Regions from separate parts of the Homo sapiens genome. Here all the other regions are linked to region 1. Evidence: promoter capture Hi-C in human tissues and cell types (Jung and others, 2019). All regions are on one chromosome and are shown on one strand. The core of a region is centred on a gene start or on the middle of the fragment in contact, and the rest is flanking DNA. Distances in the headings are between cores, read along the strand shown. Region 1 holds the start of LONP2 (lon peptidase 2, peroxisomal). Region 2 overlaps N4BP1 (NEDD4 binding protein 1). Region 3 overlaps N4BP1 (NEDD4 binding protein 1). Region 4 has its middle 92 kb from the start of N4BP1.

Region 1 (5,368 bases), core at 1,930-4,429:
AGTCAACATCTAATCCTGCCACTCTGTGTGGCAAAGAACGCTGGGAGCAAATTACTTCTGCTGCTCTTTGAAGGCTGTGCCAGCGTCACCTGGATAGCGCAAAGGAAACAAGAGAAAGGAACAGAGCCCCTCTTCTGGCCTCTGGGCTACCATACAGAAAAGCAGGTAACTGGGGAAGGACAGACTTGTGCGTGGAAACAGGCTAATGCTATGGATTACTCAGTATTGGTATTGTTAAAGCCTTTTTTTTTTTTTTTTTTTAAGTAGAGTGTTTTAAAGGCCCTATTAGAGAAAAAAAGACATTGGAAACTATTACCAAGGAATATGGTACAATCTTTCCACATAGGCTTTTTAAGTAGCAAACAATACTTCTAGGATAACTAGATGGTCTGATGAGTTCTTATAATGCCGGACTTCTATGAAGACTTTTCAATATATGTTTTCTAATTTAAATGATTAAATTTTAACATTGCTACTCAGTTAAAGGCAATAATATGAACATCAAGGATCAGATCACACAGTACCTGATTATTAGTGATTACTTTCAAGCAGGAGAATTGAGGATTGTTGCTTTGGAGGGATTTTCATAAAATAAATTAAAAACCTGAAGGGTATGGTGGCGCTTGCCTATAGTCCCAGCTACTCCAGAGGCCAAAGCAGGGGATAGCTTGAGTCCAGGAGTTTGAGACCAGCCTAAGCAACATAGTGAGACCCCATTTCTACAAAAAATTTAAAAATTAGCTGGGTGTAGTGGTGCACGCCTATAGTCCCAGCCACTCCAGAAGCTGAGGCAGGACGATCACTTGAGCCCAGGAGTTCAATCAAGGTTGCGGTGGGCTACGATCACGCCACTGCACTTCAGCGGAGGAGACAGAATGAGACTCTGTCTCAAAAAATACACAAATGAATAAATAATAAAAACCTTCCAAAATCTTGCCAGAATAATACCAACAAATAGTGAAACTTAAAATGTGACTAAATCGACTTTTCAAGTTCACAATGTGCCCATGGCTAATCAATACATATGCACAGTAGAAAGAAAATGAAGTCTAATAATGACCACTCTTGCCTAGACAGGGAACTAAGTGTGCCTGGGCACAGAAGGCAAAATAATTTGGGAAAAGTAAGCAGAAGGAGCAGAGTCGTATGTTGGGAAACTAGAATCCAATACAATTTATCAAAGAGTACTGAAACTTGGAATGTGACCAATTCCACTCAGGCAATAACCAAAGCAGGTCAGATGGGAGCCAAAATATTTTCCATGCTTGAGAAAATCAAGGCTTTTACAATATAAATGAATACTGGGCTGCTGTGGAAGGTTTGTTGGTCTTTGTTGCTTTGTTTTGCTTTCTTTTAACGGGGGTGGGGGGAGGTACCAGTCTCCTTTGAGAATCTGAAGAAAGCAAAGGATTCTCCTAAAAAAATGTACATAGTCACAAGATTTTGAGGAAAAATAAGACATGTCCAACCCTCCGGAAATCCATTCAGAGTCAGGAACCCCTAATTTAAAAATAAGGGATAACTGCCAGGAAAGGAGAAGCTCTAAACTGAAAACACAACACCTCCAGTAGAGTTAGGAATAGGAGGCGGGTGCTTGGCAGGTGAGTTTGAAGATACTTGTTGAGAGCATACGATATACCAGCATTGTCCAATAAAAATATAATGTGGACCACATATAAAATTTTAGTGGCCACATTATAAAGTAAAAACAGCAGAAATCTTAACATTTTATTAACCCCAAGTACTCAAAATATTACCTTTCCAACATTTAATCCATATAAAATGTATTAATCAAAAAGTTTTTTCAAAATCTGGCGTGTATTGTACACTTACAGCACATTTAGGGTGACCAACCTCCTGGTTTCCCTGGGACGGAGGGGCTAAAACATAGGACTTTCAATGCTAAAACAGACAATCGCAGCAAACCAGGACAACTGGCAATTCTATCATCTCAATTTGACGAGCCACATGCACTACACAGTACTGGACAGCAAAGTCATCCATCATGCATGGTGCAAAGTGGAATATACACATTATTCAATTTATTCTTCATAACTTGCCTAAGAGATGGATGCTGTCAGTTTCCAAATTGCAGAATAAAAGAAATAGAGGTTAAAGCTCTCACCCAAAGTCACACCAATAGGGCGAGGGTACTGGGCAATATAGTAGTAAGCCTGGGGCCTAAGAAATGTTATGAGTGAAGGAGCAGAGGTGAGAAGCTAGGAAAGTTCCAGAAAGGGGGACCAGCGAAAATGTGAGCAGTAAAGGCCCTTTACAAAGGGAAACAGAAGGATTAGGGGGAGAAGGAGAAGGGTGGCAGGGAGTATAGAAGAAAGGCACCCACAAATAGTGCAGTTTAGGAATGAAACAGGAAAAGTTAAAACTCACGGAGCAGAGAATGCCTCAGCGGACAAAAATGATGGGTGACAGAAAAGGGGAGGCGGATAGGAGTAAAGGGCAGTGGGGAGAAAGGTGAAAAGCGAAGGCAAGTGAAGGCAGAGATCACCGGGGAGAAAGAAAGGGCCTGGAAAGTTAAAAGCACTGGCCTAGGAGGCTGAAGACCGAGGGCGAGGAATTGCGGAGAGGGGGAAGAGGATTCAAATTAAATTATCCAGAACGGTAGGGAACTGCGTAGTTTCACCAGGTGTCAGGCACTACTTCATGAACGATCTCATTCATGGTCATGGGGCAGGTATCTGACATCCCCATTTTGCAAGTGATAGCACCAGAGAGGCGGAACCGAGCCGCGAAGGCCGCCCCGAACTGAGCCTCGCGCTCAAGGCAGGCCGTGGCCTGGGCCCAGGTCCCCGGAGGAGGCCGCGCCGCCCGCCGCCGCCGCGGGGGCAGCCAGGCCTACCTGTGCAGCGGCGGCAGGTCCTGCGCGTCGCTGGCGGGGTCAGGCGTGTTGGGGATGACGCCCAGGATGGTGCTTTGCAGCGACGTGCCCTTCAGAAGGCGGCTCCGCACCAGCTGCAGGTTGCGGGCCGAGTCCACGCTGGTGCGCATGGTGGAGCCGGGCAGCAGGACGCCCTCGTGGGTGAGCAGCAGCGGGAGGCGACTGGGGATCTGGATGGGGCTCACTGATGACATGCTGGCAGCCTTTCGCACTGGGGGCTGTCAAAAAGAGCCAGACAGACAGCTGCCCCCGGCCTGCCCCGCAGTCACCAAACCTCAGACCCGCCTCCACGCCTCCGCTTCCGGCTACGCGCTACGGTCCGTCCCCGGGCCCAAAAGCCATGGCTTCGCGCTGCTCTCTAGGAGAGCCTCCCGGTAAGACTTGAGCGTCCTACCTATGCGGAAAGACGTGCACTCAAGCGTGCAGCGACCTTCGCCTCACTTACAGAGTATATTTGGAAGGATGATCTTATTTGAATTGTATATACTTGAAGTGTTTTTAACGTTTTCTTCGATTTTTTACATATACTTGAAGTGTTTTTAACTTTTGATTCGAACTAATTATTTATTTATTTATTTATTTATTTATTCTGAGACAGATTCTCGCTCTGTCGCGGAGGCTGGAGTGCAATGGCGCGATACCCACGGCTTGCAGCCTCTGCCTCCCGGGTTCAAGCGATTCTCCTGCCTCAGCCTCCCGAGTAGCTGGGATTACAGATGCCCGCCACCACACCCAGCTAATTGTTGTATTTTTAGTAGGGAGGGGATTTCACCATGTTGGCCAGGCTGGTCTTTAACTCCTGACCTCAAGCGATCCGTCCACCTCGGCCTCCCAAAGTGCTGGGATTACAGGCGTGAGCCAACGTGCCCGGCCCGAATTGATTTTAGATGTACAAAACTACAGCAGAGTTCCTATATACCTTTCACCCAGTTTCGTCTGTTATCATCTTACATAATCATAGTTCAATGATCAAAACCAGGAAATTAACATTATTATCGTTTAACCTATAGGCCTTACCCAAATTTTGCCAGTTTTCCCACTAATGTCCTTCATTGGATCTGGTCCAGGATCCAATATCCAGGATCCTGTTGTGAAATCTCCTAGGTGTTTTGTTATGAAATCTCCTAGGTGTTCTCTAATCTGTGGCAAGTCCTCAATTTTTTTTTTTTTTTTTTTTTTTTGAGACGGAGTCTCGCTCTGTCACCCAGGCTGGAGTGTAGTGGCGAGATCTCGGCTCACTGCAAGCTCCGCCTCCCGGGTTCATGCCATTCTCCTGCTTCAGCCTCCCGAGTAGCTGGGGACTACAGGCACCCGCAACCACGCCCGGCTAATTTTTTGTATTTTTAGTAGAGACGGGGTTTCGCCATGTTAGCCAGGATGGTCTCAATCTCCTGACCTCGTGATCTGCCCGCCTTGGCCTCCCAAAAGTGCTGGGATTACAGGCCTGAGCCACTGCGCCCGTCCAATTTTTTTTTTTTTTACAACCTTGATACTTTTATTTTTTTTCTGTTTTTAATTTAATTTTATTTTTTATTATAGTTTAAGTTCTAGGGTACATGTGCACAACGTACAGGTTTGTTACATATGTATACATGTGCCATGTTGGTTTGCTGCACTCACTAACTCGTCATTTACATTAGGTATATCTCCTAATGGTATCCCTTCCCCCCCACTCCCCACCACCCAACGACAGGCCCCTGAGTGTGATGTTCCCCACCCTGTGTCCAAGTGTTCTCATTGTTCAGTTGCCACCTATGAGTGAGAACTTGCAGTGTTTTGTTTTCGGTCTTTGCGATAGTTTGCTCAGAATGATGGTTTCCAGCATCATCCATGTCCCTACAAAGGACATGAACTCATCCTTTTTTATGGCTGCATAGTATTCCATGGTGTATATGTGCCACATTTTCTTAATCCAGTCTATCATTGATGGACATTTGGGTTGGTTCCAAGTCTTTGCTATTGCGAATAGTGCCGCAGTAAGCATACGTGTGTGTGTGTCTTTATAGCAGCATGATTTATAATCCTTTGGGTATATACCCAGCAATGGGATGGCTGGGTCAAATGGTATTTCTAGTTCCAGATCCTTGAGGAATTGCCACACTGTCTTCCACAATGGTTGAACTAGTTTACAGTCCCACCAACAGTGTAAAAGTGTTCCTATTTCTCCACATCCTCTCCAGCACCTGTTGTTTCCTGACTTTTTAATGATTGCCATTCTAACTGGTGTGAGATGGTATCTCATTGTGGTTTTGATTTGCATTTCTCTGATGGCCACTGATGATGAGCATTTTTTCATGTGTCTGTTGGCTGCATAAATGTCTTCTTTTGAGAAGTGTCTGTTCATATCCTTTGCCCACTTTTAGATGGGGTTGTTTGATTTTTTCTTGTAAACTTGTTTAAGTTCTTTGTAGATTCTGGATATTAGCCCTTTGTCAGATGGGTAGATTGTAAAAATTTTCTTCCATTCTGTAG
Region 2 (5,368 bases), core at 1,407-3,906, 350 kb before region 1:
GTTTCCTTTGTTGAAAACACTGGATATCAGACGGGCACAGTGGCTCACACCTATAATCCCAGCACTTTGGGAGGTCGAGGTGGGCAGATCACTTGAGGCCAGGAGTTCAAGACCAGGCTGGCCAACATGGTGAAACCCCGTCTCTACCAAAAAATACAAAAATTAGCTGGGTGTAGTGGCGTACACCTATAATCCCAGCCACTTGGGAAGCTGAGGCATGAGACTTGCTTGAACTCATGAGGCAGAGGTTGCAGTGAGCCAAGATTGTGCCACTGCACTCCAGCCTGGGCAACAGAGCAAGACCTTGTCTCAAAAAAGCAACACTGGATATTCACAAAGTAGAATCCCAGGTCACCATAAGTCATTCATTTAACCAAAATGATAACCCACAAATTTTAAAACAGGAAAAACCTTTACTGTGGTAGAAAGGAGACTCAGCTTTCCAAACAACAAGATCCAGTGAAGATAGCATGATGCCAACTGATTTGTCTTTTCTCTCAACACCACCCCCTCCGCCACCTTTTTTGTAGTTTACTTAAAAGGCAAATGAAAACCTTTCGTTATCTTTTAATATTACATGAAAATTCTTTTCAAAAGAGAAAACCAAATTTAATGTTTGCATTAGTGCATCTTTAAAATGCTAAAGCTAGGTGGTTTTTTTTTTGTTTTTTTTTTTTTTTTTGAGACGGAGTCTTGCTCTGGCACCCAGGCTGGAGTGCAGTGGCATGATCTCGGCTCACTGCAACCTCCGCCTACTGGTTTCAAGCAACTCTTTTGTCTCAGCCTCCTGAGTAGCTGGCACTACAGGCACCCGCCAACACACCCGGCTAATTTTTAGTAGAGACACTATTTCACCATATTGGTCAGGCTAGTCTCAAACTCCTAACCTCAGGTGATCCGCCTGCCTCGGCTTCCCAAAGTGCTGGAATTACAGGTGTGAGCCACCACGTCCAGCCTAAATTTAGTTTAATAGCATTTTACAAATCTATTCAGTTTTAGTTAGTTTGACCATAAGGTAAGATTCTTATAAACCTTTTATAACCCTTTACAATATTTTTTTTGTTAAAGAGCAGAACAATGATTTAGGAAAACTCTGTTGCACTTTTATTCCAATGTTCAATTTATGGAAAAACAGAATAATACCTCTTTAACTTTAGCCAATATGTTTGCACACATTAATTTTTTATAAACCTTTCACAACTTGTTTAAACCTTTAGATTTTTTCCTTCCTCACTTAACACAATCCTTTAACCCTCTAAACTTAGGTGAGAAATTCATATTCCCATGCCTTCTTAAAATCTTTTACCAAAAGTACATTCTGCTTTCCTTACACACTTTGTGTGTAGAACTGTTTCTTCAGTAGTCTCAAATACATGTTACACTGTTAACTCTTAGCAACTTTTACTTTCGGTGAAAAACCTGGTTAGTAAGCAATTGTAATTATGTACCAGGTGTGGAGCCTAGAACAGACACCAGTCAGAAGTGCAGATAAGGTCTGACTTTCCAGCATAGCCAGGGGACTTGGCTGACTCCACATGTCCCCAGGCCTTACCTAGCTGTAAAGCAGGCAGGTTGTGAAGTCATAGTGGCAGTTTATGAAATATTTAGGGGACCTAATAATCTTTAAATTGTATAACATTTCTTGCATAAATTTCCTTTCATGAATCCTTTCATGACTTAGACCATCTATGACATGCTTGGACTTTCTGACTTGTCCTAACCACCCCTCTCTTTAAACAACCAGTCTTTTTACTTTAGGACAAGAATTTACCATACAAGATTCTTTTGTATAAAATATTTTCTTTATGGGGGCTAATTTCACATGTCCCCAGACCTTACCTAGAATGTAATGGCTCCAAGGGAGGTATATTGAAGAATTTTCAAAAGTTAAAGAAGCAGTTTATGACCTTAGAGCATTTAGCAAACCTAATATTTGACCTAATTTAGATGAAATGTCTAAATTTGGAAGATATTTTTATTTACCAGTAATCTTTAAAACTGTTTATTACCAAAAGATTACGAAAGTTATATGAACTAAACTAGCTCATTAGTTTTAGTTTTTCTGACAAAATATCTGATTTAAGTGCTTATTTTTCTTTAAGCTAGTTAATTAGAGCTCTTTTATATAAACATCACACACAACACATACACAGACAGAATATCCAGTAGTTGTAACATTTTTCATTTGCCAGTTTCTTAAGTTGGATTACTGGCTTCAGGGCAGAGCCCTTCACGAAACAAGGCTAGGAAAGCATGCAGTTACTAGGGCCTAAAAAGCAGGCACAGCTGGAAAGCAAAGACATTCTCAAAATTAAGGGTCCCATTTTTATATTGCATCCTGGATTTTCAAAAGGGAAATGCTGTTGGAGAAAACGGTGCAATGCTTTTACCATGCATTTAATTGCCTGGCAACCCAAACCCAGTCAGCCGATTTTGTTTTTGTTTCTGTTCTGGGGGGATGGAATCTTGCCCTGTCACCCAGGCTAGATTGCAGTGGTGTGACCTTGGCTCATTGCAACCTCCACCTCCTGGCAATCAGCCCATTTTGTAATTAGCCCATCCCCCATGGGAATCTCATCTCTCAGTAGAGTGTGGGGATTTTTCCTCCTTACCTTCCAGGTGGCCAAGAGCATGCTTCTTTGATTAAAGCGTGCAGTGAGCCAAGTATCCCTCTGTAACTGTTATTAGCCATCCCTTAAAGTACATTTTGTACCTAATTTTTGCACACCAAGGCTAACAGCTCTCCCATAATGCAGAGTAATTTCTGATACCCCCAAAACTTGGAAAAAAAAAAAAACGTCAGGTAACATAATGTAAAGCTGAACAGAGCCTTAGATTTTGAGAGCGATCTATCCACTTTCAACTCCTGGGGTTCCATGAGGAAAACAGGTTTTTTTTTTTTCCAAAGTGGAAGCTGTTAGAAATTATCTTAAGTTCTCTCATGTGGGCATCAGGAGGGCAAAGTAGAGAAATAATTCAGTTGACTGAGAAGAAAAACAAAAACTTTTTCACAAAAACAACCAATATCCAAGAAGAAAAAAAAAAAAAAAACCAAGGCCTTTTAAAATAATAGAGCTTGGATATCCATTTTTAATTAAGTTGATTTTAACCATAGAGCTCTTTTTAAATTTTTTTTTAAAAATCTCTTATTATCAGACTCTAGCCAGGACAGTCAATATTTCTGGCTTTTGAACTTTGCCACAGGTAACTTCCCATGTGAAATTAATAAGTTTTAGCTAAGGTTACAGCTTAACCATGGACCCATAAGGTGTTTCAAAGAGATGGTAAGCAGCTTCTTTTTACAAGATTTAGAATCTTCCCAAGGGCAGTTTGGAGAAAGAAAAATTCAAGACAGGAAATCGGAAGCTAGCCATTGGGGTGGGGGTGGGACCCTCAAAAAGTGGGAAAGTTAAGTAACAAACCAGAAAGGAATCATTTCCGAAGCCAAGAATTCAACCTGGGCTGCCACTGTCAAAAGACAAAAAGCCTTGTCTACTGAGTTACAACATTCAGCAGGTTCTATTGCTCTTCCCAGAAGGTGCTTAGAGGAGCCAATTTCAAGCTTGCAAAGGCTTTTAATTGCTCAAGATAATTTTTGACTTTTGTCAGCAGTTCCTTCAGAGATCCCCACCATATACAGAAACACACAAAGACAAGACAGACAGAAGAGCTTCCAAATCAAGATCCCTAACCAATAATTTCAGAGTACCCCTTCCAAACTATCCTCCTATTCTCTGCCTGAGAAATCTCCCCTAAATCTTCTGGATTGAGGAGAAGTCTTCCTAACTAAGACTCTTCCTACTAATTAAGGAGAGCCAACTGAGACCCCAAAGGAGCCGAACCAAGACAGACACTCGGTGATGGAGCTGCAGACACATACCACACCATGGGGCTATGGAACCATTTGGGAGAAGGAAGGAGCTGTGGCAGCGCCTAGGATACTCACTGAGCCAGACACCCTGTGATAGGGGAACAGTTATTGGACATCTGCCCAGGATTGTTTCTCCATTGCAATTAAATTCATGCACATTGGGTTGGCAGTGCCCTGTCGGTAGAGACAGTGTCAGAGTCAGCCACCAATCCAAGAGAACTAGGCAGCCGCTTGGGCTGGCCTCTGGATCCATTGCCAGAGGGGTGCTACCAAACCACAGGCAGGTAGCCACAAGAGCAATCCTGGACAAGCCTCCAAATTTGTAACCAACCAACAGGTTCACCTTGCCCTCTGCCTAGACAGAGCCAATTTATCAAGACAGGGGAACTGCAGTGGAGAAAGAGTAATTCACACACAGCTGGCTGTGTGGGAGACTAGAGTTTTATTATTACTCAAAACCCTCTCCCCCAGCGTTCAGGGATCAGTTTTTAAAGATAATTTGGCAGGTAGGGGCTTGGGAAGTGGGGAGTGCTGATTGGTCAGGTTGGAGATGGAATCATGGGGGTCAAAGTGAGGTTTTCTTGCTGTCTTCTGTTCCTGGGTGGGATGGCAGAATTGGTTGAGCCAGAATATGGATCTGGGTGGTGTCAGCTGATTCATTGAGTGCAGAGTCTGCAAAATATTTCAACCACTAATTTTAGGTTTTACAATAGTGATGTTATCCCCAGGAGCAATTTGGGGAGGTTCAGACTCTTGGAGCCAGAAGCTATATGACTCCTAAACCATCATTTCTAATCTTGTAGCTAATTTGTTAGTCCTTCAAAGGCAGACTGGTCCCCAAGCAAGAAGGGGGTCTTTCCGAGAAAGGGCTGTTACCAGTTTTGTTTCAGAGTCAAACCGTAAACTGAATTCCTTCCCAAGGTTATTTCGACCTACACCCAGCAATGAACAAGAACAGCCCAAAGGTTAGATACAAGATGGAGTCAATTAGGTCTGATCTCTTTCACTGTCATAATTTCCTCAGTTATAATTTTTGCAAAGGTGGTTTCACCAGTCTACAAAGTGAATTCCTTTGGCAGGTTCTATACCCTTGTAGGGATCTAGGGAAAAGTTTCCCAGGTTGTTTTGTGATTATGACTGATGGGCTATAAATCGATTTTCTCACAACTCACTCCATGGGTTTTGTTAATTAGCTAAGCAGCTCAGAGAACTCTGGGCAAGACACTTACTGGTTAATTGTAAAGGCTGTTACAAAGGTTATAGATGAAGCGATGCATAGGGCAAGGTATGAGGGAAAGGGCTTAGAGCTTCCATACCCTCTCCAGGAACAACACCCTTCAGGATAGGTATTAGCTATCCTGAAACTCTCCAAAGCCAGTCCATTTGGGTTTTTATGGAAGCCTCATTACATAGGCGTGATTGATTAAATCATTGGCACTGATGATCAAACTAACCTTCAGCCCCTCTCCCTTCCCGAGAGGTTGGAAGTAGGGTTGA
Region 3 (5,368 bases), core at 2,034-4,533, 320 kb before region 1:
TATTCTCAAAACTCAAAAGGCTAATGAAAGAAAGCAAATGAAATCTAAATAAATGGAGAGAAATACCAGGTTCATGGATCAGGAGACTCAGCAGATGTCAGTTATGCTCAGATTCATGTCACTTGCTGACACATAATTGTCAGCACAATTGCTGATAAAATTCCAGCAAGATATTTTGCAGACACAGACAAAATTATTCTAAAATGTGTATGGGAAGACAAAGGAACTGGAATAATTAAAGCAATTTTAAAAATTATAAAGAGGGAGCAAATCATTACCCAATTTTAAGAAATTATAGAGTTACAGTAATCAAAACGGTGTGGTCTTGATGAAGGGATAGATTTACACAGATTGGAACAGAATAGGGAACTCACAAGTAGTTCCACACAAGTATGGCAAAGTGATTTTTTGACAAAAGTGCAATTCAGTAGTGAAAGAATAGCCTTTTCAAGAAATGGTGCTAGAGCAATATTATACCTATAGGCAAAAATGTGAAGCTCAAGCTAACCCTCACACCTTCTTTTAAAATGTACTAAAAATGGATCATAGGTTTAAATGTAAAACTTAGACGATAACATTGGAGAGGTCTTCAGTACCCCAGGCTTGGTGAAGAATAAAATCTAAAAACCGAACTTCCTTAAAAGTAAAAACTTGCTGTCACAAAACACCCTGTTAAGAGGATGGGAAGACAAACTACAGACCAGGAGAAAATATCTGCAAGCCACATATTTGACAAAAGACTCTTAGGATATATAAAGAGCTCTCAAAACTCAACAGTAAAAAAACAATTAGAAAATAGAAGGCTACTAGAGACTAGGAAGGATAGGGAGAGATTTGTTAATAGATACAAAATTACAGCTCCCTGGGGAGAATAAATTCTAGTGTTCCATATCACTGTAGAATGACTACAGTTAACAATAATATATAGTTTCAAATAGCTAGAAGGAGGATATAGAGTGCTCCCAACACAGAGAAATGCTAAATGTTTGAAATGGATATGCTAATTACCCTGTTCTGATCACTATACATTATTATATGTATTGAGACTTCCCTGTGTAACCCATGAATATATACAATCAGCCAGGCACAGTGGCTCACGCCAGCATTCACTTGTTCTATTAGATCTGCATTTAATTTAACAGTCTGATTTTCTTTAGAAAACAGACAAAAAAATCATAGGATATAGACTGTTTCAATCAGTAGCAACTAATTGTAATCCCAGCAATTTGGGAGGTGGAGGCAGGGGGATCACCTGAGGTCAGGAGTTCAAGACCAGCTTGGCCAACATGGTGAAACCCCATCTAGCGTACAAAATTAGCCAGGTGTCGTGGCACATGCCTGTAATCCCAGCTACTTGGGAGGCTGAGGCAGAAGAGTCGCTTGAACCTGGGAGATCGCGCCATTCCACTCCAGCCTGGGTGACTAGAACAAAACTCCATCTCAAAAAAAAAAAATTATATATATATATACAATCATTATTTGTCAATTAAAAATTTAAAAAATTTTTTTTTAGAGATAGGGTCCCGCTCTTTGGCCCAGGCTGGAATGCAGTGACATGATCTCAGCTTACTGCAGCCTCAGTCTCCTGGGCTGAAGCGATCCTCCCATCTCAGCCTCCCAAGTAGCTGGAACTATAGGCACACACCACCATTCCCAGCTTATTTTTTGTAGAAATGGGGTTTCACCATGTTGCCCAGGCTAAATTAAAAGAAAACTTTTTTTTTTAAATTTTTTATTTCAATACCAACATCTGAGAACACCAATACTGTCCAGCATTCACTTGTTCTGTTAGATCTGCATTTAATTTAACAGTCTGGTTTTCTTTAGAAAACAGACAGAAAATCATACAGGATATAGATTGTTTCAACCAGCTGGAAAAAAATTTTTTATTAATGTTATTCTTGCTTCTTAATAAACTTGCTTTTGCTTTGAAAAAAAAAATTAATGTTATTCTTTTATACCTTCAAGAAATCTGGAAACCAAGGGTAATAGTAGCAAAAGTCAAGATTTGTTCTGTAGTCAATCACTTGATTTGATTATCTTATCTCTTGATTATGTCATGGAAGTAATAAATTACTGGTAGCAAGCAAAGATGTCTTTTCATTAGAGATGTAAATAAATCCAGCCTTGGGATTATTCACTGTGTAGCTCAGCAAATCCCTAAGATCACATTGCATAAAATGTTACAAAATACCCACCTTTTAGATTTGGATGCAGAGTTTTCAGTTCCTCTAAAGATGGTTTAAGCAAGTTATATCTGTTATTTTCAATGTTTTATTTAAAACATGACATTTTGTTCAAAATTACAAACATGCTTGTGATTTTTATAAAATCGGCCTGACATTTGTAGTTACATGGTAATTTATTATGTGCTATAAGGAACTTTTGTAAATTGACCTAATTTCTTATTTTCTCTTTACAGGAATATATTAAAGGAATCTGTGAACCTGAACTAGAAGAAAGAGAATGTTACCCCAAGGACATGCACTGCATTTTTGTTGGGGCAGAGAGCCTGTTTCTGAAAAGCTTGATTCAGGATACTTGTGCTGACCTCTGCATTCTGGACATTGGCCTTCTTGGCATCAGAGGAAGTGCTGAGGCTGTGGTCATGGCTAGGAGTCACATTCAACAATTTGTAAAGCTCTTTGAAAATAAAGAGAACCTACCCAGTAGTCAGAAAGAATCAGAGGTGAAAAGGGAATTCAAACAATTTGTTGAAGCCCATGCAGACAATTACACAATGGATTTGTTGATTTTGCCCACTTCCTTGAAAAAAGAACTTTTGACACTCACACAAGGTGAGGAGAATCTCTTTGAAACAGGAGATGATGAGGTTATTGAAATGAGAGATTCTCAACAAACAGAGTTTACACAGAATGCTGCCACAGGGCTGAATATTTCTAGAGATGAAACTGTTTTGCAGGAAGAGGCAAGAAATAAAGCTGGGACTCCTGTTTCTGAGCTTACAAAACAAATGGACACAGTCCTTTCTAGCTCACCAGATGTGCTTTTTGATCCAATAAATGGTCTAACCCCAGATGAAGAGGCACTTTCCAATGAGAGAATTTGTCAGAAAAGGAGATTTTCTGATTCTGAAGAAAGGCATACGAAGAAGCAGTTTTCTTTGGAAAATGTTCAGGAGGGGGAGATTTTACACGATGCTAAGACATTGGCTGGAAATGTAATAGCTGACCTATCTGATTCTTCTGCTGATTCTGAAAATTTAAGTCCAGATATAAAAGAAACTACTGAGGAAATGGAATACAACATCCTCGTAAACTTTTTTAAAACCATGGGCTACTCCCAAGAAATTGTTGAAAAGGTCATTAAGGTGTATGGACCATCTACTGAACCATTATTGCTCTTAGAGGAAATTGAAAAAGAAAATAAAAGATTCCAAGAAGACAGAGAATTTTCAGCTGGTACAGTGTATCCAGAGACCAACAAAACCAAAAATAAAGGTGTTTATAGCAGCACAAATGAGCTTACAACTGATTCCACTCCAAAGAAAACACAGGCTCACACACAGCAAAATATGGTAGAAAAATTTTCTCAGTTACCATTCAAAGTGGAAGCTAAACCATGTACCTCAAATTGTAGAATTAATACTTTCAGAACAGTGCCAATAGAACAGAAACATGAAGTCTGGGGTTCAAACCAGAACTACATTTGTAACACAGACCCTGAAACTGATGGCCTTTCACCTTCTGTTGCCTCTCCAAGTCCCAAAGAAGTCAATTTTGTTTCAAGGGGAGCTTCAAGTCACCAGCCCAGAGTTCCACTTTTTCCTGAAAATGGTTTACACCAGCAGCCAGAACCCTTGCTTCCAAATAATATGAAATCTGCCTGTGAAAAACGTTTAGGATGTTGTAGTTCTCCTCATTCTAAGCCAAATTGCTCAACCCTTTCTCCACCAATGCCACTGCCCCAGCTGTTACCTTCGGTTACTGATGCAAGGTCGGCAGGACCTTCTGATCATATTGATTCCTCAGTTACTGGGGTTCAAAGGTTTCGAGATACTCTAAAAATACCCTACAAGCTGGAATTAAAAAATGAACCAGGGAGAACGGATTTGAAACACATTGTTATAGATGGGAGCAATGTTGCAATTACGTAAGTCCATTCTCTGCAGATTATTTTATTTTAAATAGGGCTCTAAATGGTGTCTCAGAATCACATGTATATGGGAACTATACATACATGTTGTATATAGTTGATCTGTAGCCTTAGGGTCGGATGGTGGAGGGGAATGGGAACCAACTGGTTGGAAAGGTTTTGTCAGTCCATCTTCTGGATTCATGAACTTTACTTCACCCTGCTGAACTTAATTTCTAAGGGCAAGAGAGGATAGAAAATTATCTTTTCACGTTGCATTGCTCAGTGATATGTAGTATAGTGACTTTTAAGTCATTAAATTCTTAATATTGTGAGTACCATTATGTTCTAATCTAAATAAGAGAACACAGCTTAAAGCAAAAGGATTTTTTTTTATCTTATTATGCTGGAGTATGCCTGATCTCTAGCCAAGAGTGTGCAGTGGTAACAGGTGTGATGTATTTCTGTGGATAGAGCAATGGCAATTTCCTTTCAAAAGTAGTCACTTTGAGCTTCACTGTGGGCCTCTGCTCTTACTAAAAGTTTATAATATTTGTTTTTAGTAAAAGACATCATTTAATGAACCTGTTGTTTCTAGTTAGCCTGTCTTGGAACTCCTCTTAGTTGAAAATCCTCTGATTTGAAACCTGTACGCTTGGGTTTTTTTTCTAAGGGGCAGTTTAAGATCGTGGCTAAGGAGAGTGTGAGGGTCAAGAGCCTCCCTGCACTGTGGACCAGCTGTTTGATTTGGGGCAGGTCACTTAACTGTTCGGAGTTTCAGTTGCTGCAATCTGTTGCCTTCTGACCTGTCCTTAAGGACATCTTTACCATATCATTTCAACAACTATGTAAAGTCTGCCTTCAGTTTTCAAAACCAGTCACCCCATTGTTAAAAGAAAAACTTAGGGCAAATTACATTTAGCAGAGTTGATCTGCACGAACAATGATTTACGAATCTGGCAGCACCCTGAACCAGGAGAGGTTCAGAGAGCTTCACCCAGCAATGAGGGCTGGCAGTATTTATAGGCAGAAAAGGGAATTGCCCTGCAGAAACAGCTTGATTACCTACGGGTTGGCATTTGCCTTATCCAGGCATCCTGTGATGAGGCATTTGCCTTATGTAGAAGTGGTCTGAACAATTGGCAGCCTGTGATTGGCTGAAGCTTGGCTGCTGTGATTGGCTGAGACTCAGCCATTTTTTTTTACAAGAATACTCTTAGGTTGCCATTTGTTCACATACTAAGGTTGCAGGTCACTATGTATGGAGGCACCT
Region 4 (5,368 bases), core at 1,932-4,431, 270 kb before region 1:
GCAATCCCAGCTACTCGGAAGGCTGAGGCAGAGAATCACTTGAACCCGGGAGGCAGAGGTTGCAGTGAGCAGAGATCGCGCCATTGCACTGCAGCCTGGGCAACAAGAGTGAAACTCCATCTCAAAGGAAAAAAATAAATAAATAAAAGCCTCCAATGGCTCCCCGTTTACCTGGGGTAGAGTCCAAATTCCTTAGTGTAGACTATAGGCCCTCCCTGTTCCTCCTGGCCTAGGTACCTGTTGTCCCCTCTGCAGGGACATCTCTCCACTCCACCTGCTTTGCTTGACATGCTCCGACTCCTCCTTTAAATCACTTTCTCCAGAACAGCTTCTCCGTAGCTCCCAGGCCACGTTACCAGCCCTCAGCGATGTCACCTGAGGAACTCTTCCGTGGGTTGTATCTGCTTGTTCATAGCTCTGTTTCTCCCCCAGTCAGTCTTTCTCACTGGAGGAACTTTAAATCAGCTTTTTTTTTTAAATGGAGTCTCACTCTGTTGCTCAGGTTGGAGTGCAGTGGTGCAATCTTGGCCCACTGAAACCGCTGCCCACTGGGCTCAAGCAATCCTCCCACCTCAGCCTCTCGAGTAGCTGGGACTACCAGTGTGCACCACCATGCCCAGCTAATTTTTGTAATTTTAGTAGAGACGGGGTTTCACCATGTTGGCCAGGCTGGTCTCAAACTCCTGAGCTCAAGTGATCTGGCTGCCTCGGCCTCCCAAAGTGCTGGGATTACAGACATGAGCCACTGTGCCCGGCTACCACCCCCAGAGATTCTGATTCAGCTGTCTGGAGTATGGCCTGGGCAGGGACAATTTTAAATCTCCTCCTGTGACTGTAAGGTACAACCAGGCTGAGAACAGCCGCACTAGACTGTGAACGCCCTGAGAGCAGCTGAGCCTTATTTATCCAGGTTCCCAAGGTCTGAGCTTAGCAGGCCTCCCTCCGCATTGCTGGGATGAACAACATGGCCCCAGGTAGTCCAGGGAGCCGAGATGGGTGACTGCTGAGTGCTGGGAGGCAAGAAGGAAAACTGCCTGGCATTCCTCTGCCTTTTTTTTTTTTTTTGAACTTTGTTTTGTCTTTAGAGACAGGGGTCTCACTATGCTGCCCAGGTTGAACCCAAAGTCCTGGGATCAAGCAATCCTCCTGCCTCAGCCTCCCTAGTAGTTGGGACTATTGGCATGCACTACCAGGCCCAGCATTTAAAAAATTTTTAAATTAGTAAATGTTATTTCTTAGAACAGTTTTGGGTTCACAGAAAAATCGAATGGAAAGTACAGAGAGTTCCCATATACACCCTGTTCCCACACATGCCCAGCAGCCTCCCTCACCATCAACATCCCCCAACAGATTGGTACATTCATTAAAAGTGATGAACCTGCCTCCACACACCATCACCCAAAGTTCATAGTTTGCATGAGAATTCATTCTGGGTATTGTGCATTCTATGGGTTTTGACAAATGTATAATGCCACGTGTCCACTACTGCAGTACCACACATTAGAGGAGTTGCCCTGCCCCAAACGTCCTCTGTGCTCCCCCTGTTCATCTTTCCCTCCCCTTAACTTCTAGCAACCACTGATCTTTTTTTTTTTTTTTTTTTTTTTTTTTTTTTGGAGACGGAGTCTCGCTCTGTTGTATAGGCTAGAGTGCAGTGGTGTGATCTCGGCTCATTGCTACCTCTGCCTCCTGGGTTCAAGCGATTCTCCTGCCTCAGCCTCCCAAATAGCTGGGACTACAGGCAAACGCTGCCACACCTGGCTAATTTTTTATATTTTAGTAGAGATAGGGTTTCACCATGTTGACCAGGCTGGTCTCGAACTCCTGAGCTCAGGCAAACTCCTGAGCTCAGGCAATCTCCTGAGCTCAGGCAATCCGCCAGCCTCGGCCTCCCAAAGTGCTAGAATTACAGGCATGAGCCACCACACCCGGCTGCAACCACTGATCTTTTTATTGCTCCCATAGGTTTGCCTTTTCCAGAATGTCATATAGTTGGAATCATACAGTAAGTAGCCTTTTCAGATTGGCTTCTTTCACCTAATAATGTTCATTTAAATTTCTTCCATGTCTCTCTGTGGGTTCATAGCTAATTTCTTTTTAATGTTGAATAATACTCCATTGTTTGAATGTACCAAAGTTTATTTATCCATTCACTACTGAAGGACATCTTGGTTGCTTCCAAATTTTGACAGTTATAAATAAAGCTGCTACAAACATCTGTGTGCAGCTTTTTTTGCTTTTTTGAGACAGGGTCTCACACTGTCACCCAGGCTGGAGTGCAGTGGTGCAATCATGGCTCACTGCAGCCTTGACCTCTCAGGCTCAAGCGATCTTCTCACCTCAGCCTTTTGAGTACTTGAAACTACAGGTGCACGCCACCACACCCAGCTAATTTTTCAACTTTTTTGTAGAGATGCGGTTGAGCTGTTTTGCCCAGGCTGGTCTCGAACTCCTGGGCTCAAGCAATCCTCTCGCCTTGGCCTCCCAAAGTGCTGGGATTACAGGCCTGAGCCACTGCACCTGGCCTATTGCAGCATTTCGTGTGGGCATAAGTTTTCAGCTCCTTTGGGTAAATACCCAGGAGTGCAATTGCTAGACCAAATGGTGAGATGATGTTTAGTGTTATAAAAACCTGCCAAAATGTCTTCCAAAATGGCTGTACCATTTTACATTCCCACCAGGAGTGAATGAGAGTTTCTGTTGTTCCACATCCTCATCAGCATTTAGTGTTGTTTGTGTTCTGGATTTTGGCCATTCTAATAGGTTCATAGTGGTATCTCATTGTTTTAATTTGCATTTCCCTGATGACATATGATGTGGAGCATCTTTTCATATGCTATTTGCTGTCTGTATGTCTCCTTTTGTGAAGTATCTGATAAGGCCATTGGCCCATTCTTAAATAGCATTATTCATTGTCTTATTGTTGGGTTTCAAGAGTTCTTTGTATATTTGGATAATAGTCCTTCATCAGATATGTTTTTTGCAAGTATTTTCTCCCAGTCTCTGGCTTGTCTTGTCATTGTCTTGACATTGTCTTTCATGGAGCAGAAGTTTTTAAATTTAAATCAAGTCCAGCTTATCAATTATTTATTTCATGGATCAGGTCTTTGGTGTTGCATCTAAAAATTCATTGCCATACTCAAGGCCATCAAGGTTCTCTCCTATGTCATCTTCTAGGAGTTTTATAGTTTTGCATTTGTACATTTAGGTCTATGATCCATTTTGAGTTAATTTTTATGAAGAGTATAAGTTCTGTGTCTAGATTTTTTTTTTTTTTTTGAGACAGGGTCTCACTCTGTCACCCAGATGGTAGTAGTACAGTGGCACAATCACAGCACACTGCAGCCTTGACCTCTTGGGCTCAACCAATCCTCCTGCCTCAGCCTCCCGAGTAGCTGGGACCACAGGTATGCACCACCACAACTGGTTACTTTTTCTATTTTTTTTGTACAGACAAGATCTCACTATATTGCCCAAGCTTGTCTTGAACTCCTGGGCTCAAGGGATCCTCTTGCCCCAGCATCCCAAAGTGCTGGGATTACAGGTATGAGTCACTGCACCCAGCCTAGATTCATTTTTTGACATGTGGATGTTCAGTTATTCCAGCACCATTTGTTGAAAAGACTATCTTTGCTCCATTGCAGCTTGGCAGATTATATGTTTCAAGGAATGGGTGTATTTTATCTAGATCATAAAATTGGTGGGCATAGAATTGTTCATAATATTATTTTTTATTCTTTTAACTCATGAATTTATTCTTTTAATTCATCTGTAGTGAATTACAGTTCTGATATTAGTCATTTGTGTCTGCTCTCTTTTCCTAGTCTGGCTAGAGGCTTATGAATTTTATCGGTCTTGCAAAGACCCACCCTTTAGTTTCATTGATTTTCTCTATTGATTTCCTATTTTCAATTTCATTGAGTTTTACTTTGGTTTTTATTATTTCTTTTCTTCTGTTTTGTGTAAATTTAATTTGTGTAAATTAATTACACAAATTACACAAATTTGTGTAAATTAATTACACAAATAATTGTGTAAAATTGCTTTGTGTAAATTAATTTTTTTTTCTAGTTTCCTAAAGGGGAAGCTTAAATTGTTGATTTTAGATCTCTATTTTTTTGATACATACATTCAATATTATCAATTTCTCTCTAAACACTACTTTCGCTACATCACACAATTTTGATTAGTTGTGTTCTCATTTTCACTTAGTTCAAAATATTTTTAAATTTTTCTTGAGAGTTCTTTTTTGACCTTTGTGTTATGCAGAAGTGTGTTGTTTAATCCCCAAGTATTTGGGAATTTTCTAGCTATCTTTCTCTTACTGATTTCTAGTTTAATTCCACTGTGGTCTGAGGCCAGACATTGGATGGTTTCTATTCTTTTAAATGTATTAAGATTTTTTTTGTTTTTATTTATTTATTTTTTTTGAGACGGAGTCTTGCTCTGTCGCCCAGGCTGGAGTGCAGTGGTGCAATCTCGGCTCACCACAACCTCTGCCTCCCGGGTTCAAGCGATTCTCCTGCCTCACCCTCCGAAGTAGCTGGGACTACAGGTGCGTGCCACCATGCATGGCTAATTTTTGCATTTTTAGGAGAGACAGGGTTTCATTATGTTGGCCAAGCTGGTCTCAAATTCCTGACCTGGTGATCTGCCTGCCTCAGCCTCCCAAAGTGCTGGGATTACAGGTGTGAGCCATCACACCTGGCCTTAAGGTGTTTTTTATGGCCCTGAATGTGGTCTGTCTTGGTGAATATTCCATATGAGCTTCAGAAGAATGTGTAATCTGCTGTCACTGGGTGAGGCCATTTATAGATCAATATACCAGCTGTTAATGGTACTATTGAGTTCTGCCTGCTGGATCTGTCCATTTCTGTTAAAGGGGTGTTAAAATCTCCAACTTATTTATTTATTTATTTATTTATTTATTTAGACGGAGTCTTGCTCTGTCACCCAGGCTGGAGTGCAGTGGTGCGATCTTGGCTCACTGCAACCTCTGCGTCCCGGGTTCAAGTGATTCTCCTGCCTCAGCCTCCTGAGTAGCTGGGATTACAGGCGCGTACAACAACACCCAGCTAATTTTTGTACTTTTAGTAGAGACAGGGTTTCACCATGTTGGCCAGGCTGGTCTCAAACTCCTGACCTCAGGTGAACTGCCCTCCTCAGCCTCTCAAAGTGCTGGGATTACAGGTGTGAGCCACTGCACCCAGCCAAAATCTCCAACTTTAAAAGTGGGTTCGTTATTTCTTCTCGAAGGTCTGTCAGTTTTTGCCTCTCAGGCACCGATGCTCTGTTGTTAGGCGTGTACATATTAAGTATTGTTGCCTTGGAGAACTGAGCCCTCCCTCATTCTGTAATGCCTTCTTTA

The links. Contacts are between HindIII fragments. The study calls those that stand out against the background at their distance.
Region 2: a contact is called between a fragment that was not itself captured here and the fragment with the promoter of LONP2 in region 1, in 2 of the 25 tissues and cell types used here (dorsolateral prefrontal cortex and lymphoblastoid cells).
Region 3: a contact is called between a fragment that was not itself captured here and the fragment with the promoter of LONP2 in region 1, in 5 of the 25 tissues and cell types used here (dorsolateral prefrontal cortex, liver, lymphoblastoid cells and 2 more).
Region 4: a contact is called between a fragment that was not itself captured here and the fragment with the promoter of LONP2 in region 1, in 2 of the 25 tissues and cell types used here (dorsolateral prefrontal cortex and neural progenitor cells).

Annotation. Positions count from the first base shown.
Region 1 is chr16:48,242,111-48,247,478 of GRCh38, reverse strand. LONP2 (lon peptidase 2, peroxisomal) reads right to left here and starts at 3,179. Exons shown (of 15, transcript NM_031490.5): 1 at 2,858-3,179. The coding sequence starts at 3,090. It overlaps ABCC11 (ATP binding cassette subfamily C member 11), which reads left to right. Exons shown (of 30, transcript NM_001370497.1): 1 at 1-165. RefSeq lists an enhancer at 3,154-3,243. The HindIII fragment of the contact is 28,002 bases long and covers 1-5,368 here.
Region 2 is chr16:48,589,316-48,594,683 of GRCh38, reverse strand. All of the region lies in intron 1 of N4BP1 (NEDD4 binding protein 1), which reads left to right. Among named protein-coding and RNA genes, the nearest start is that of N4BP1, 18 kb to the left of the region's middle. The HindIII fragment of the contact is 4,938 bases long and covers 188-5,125 here.
Region 3 is chr16:48,559,499-48,564,866 of GRCh38, reverse strand. It overlaps N4BP1 (NEDD4 binding protein 1), which reads left to right. Exons shown (of 7, transcript NM_153029.4): 2 at 2,423-4,113. Among named protein-coding and RNA genes, the nearest start is that of N4BP1, 48 kb to the left of the region's middle. The HindIII fragment of the contact is 5,231 bases long and covers 668-5,368 here.
Region 4 is chr16:48,515,851-48,521,218 of GRCh38, reverse strand. No RefSeq gene overlaps it. Among named protein-coding and RNA genes, the nearest start is that of N4BP1, 92 kb to the left of the region's middle. The HindIII fragment of the contact is 4,119 bases long and covers 1,122-5,240 here.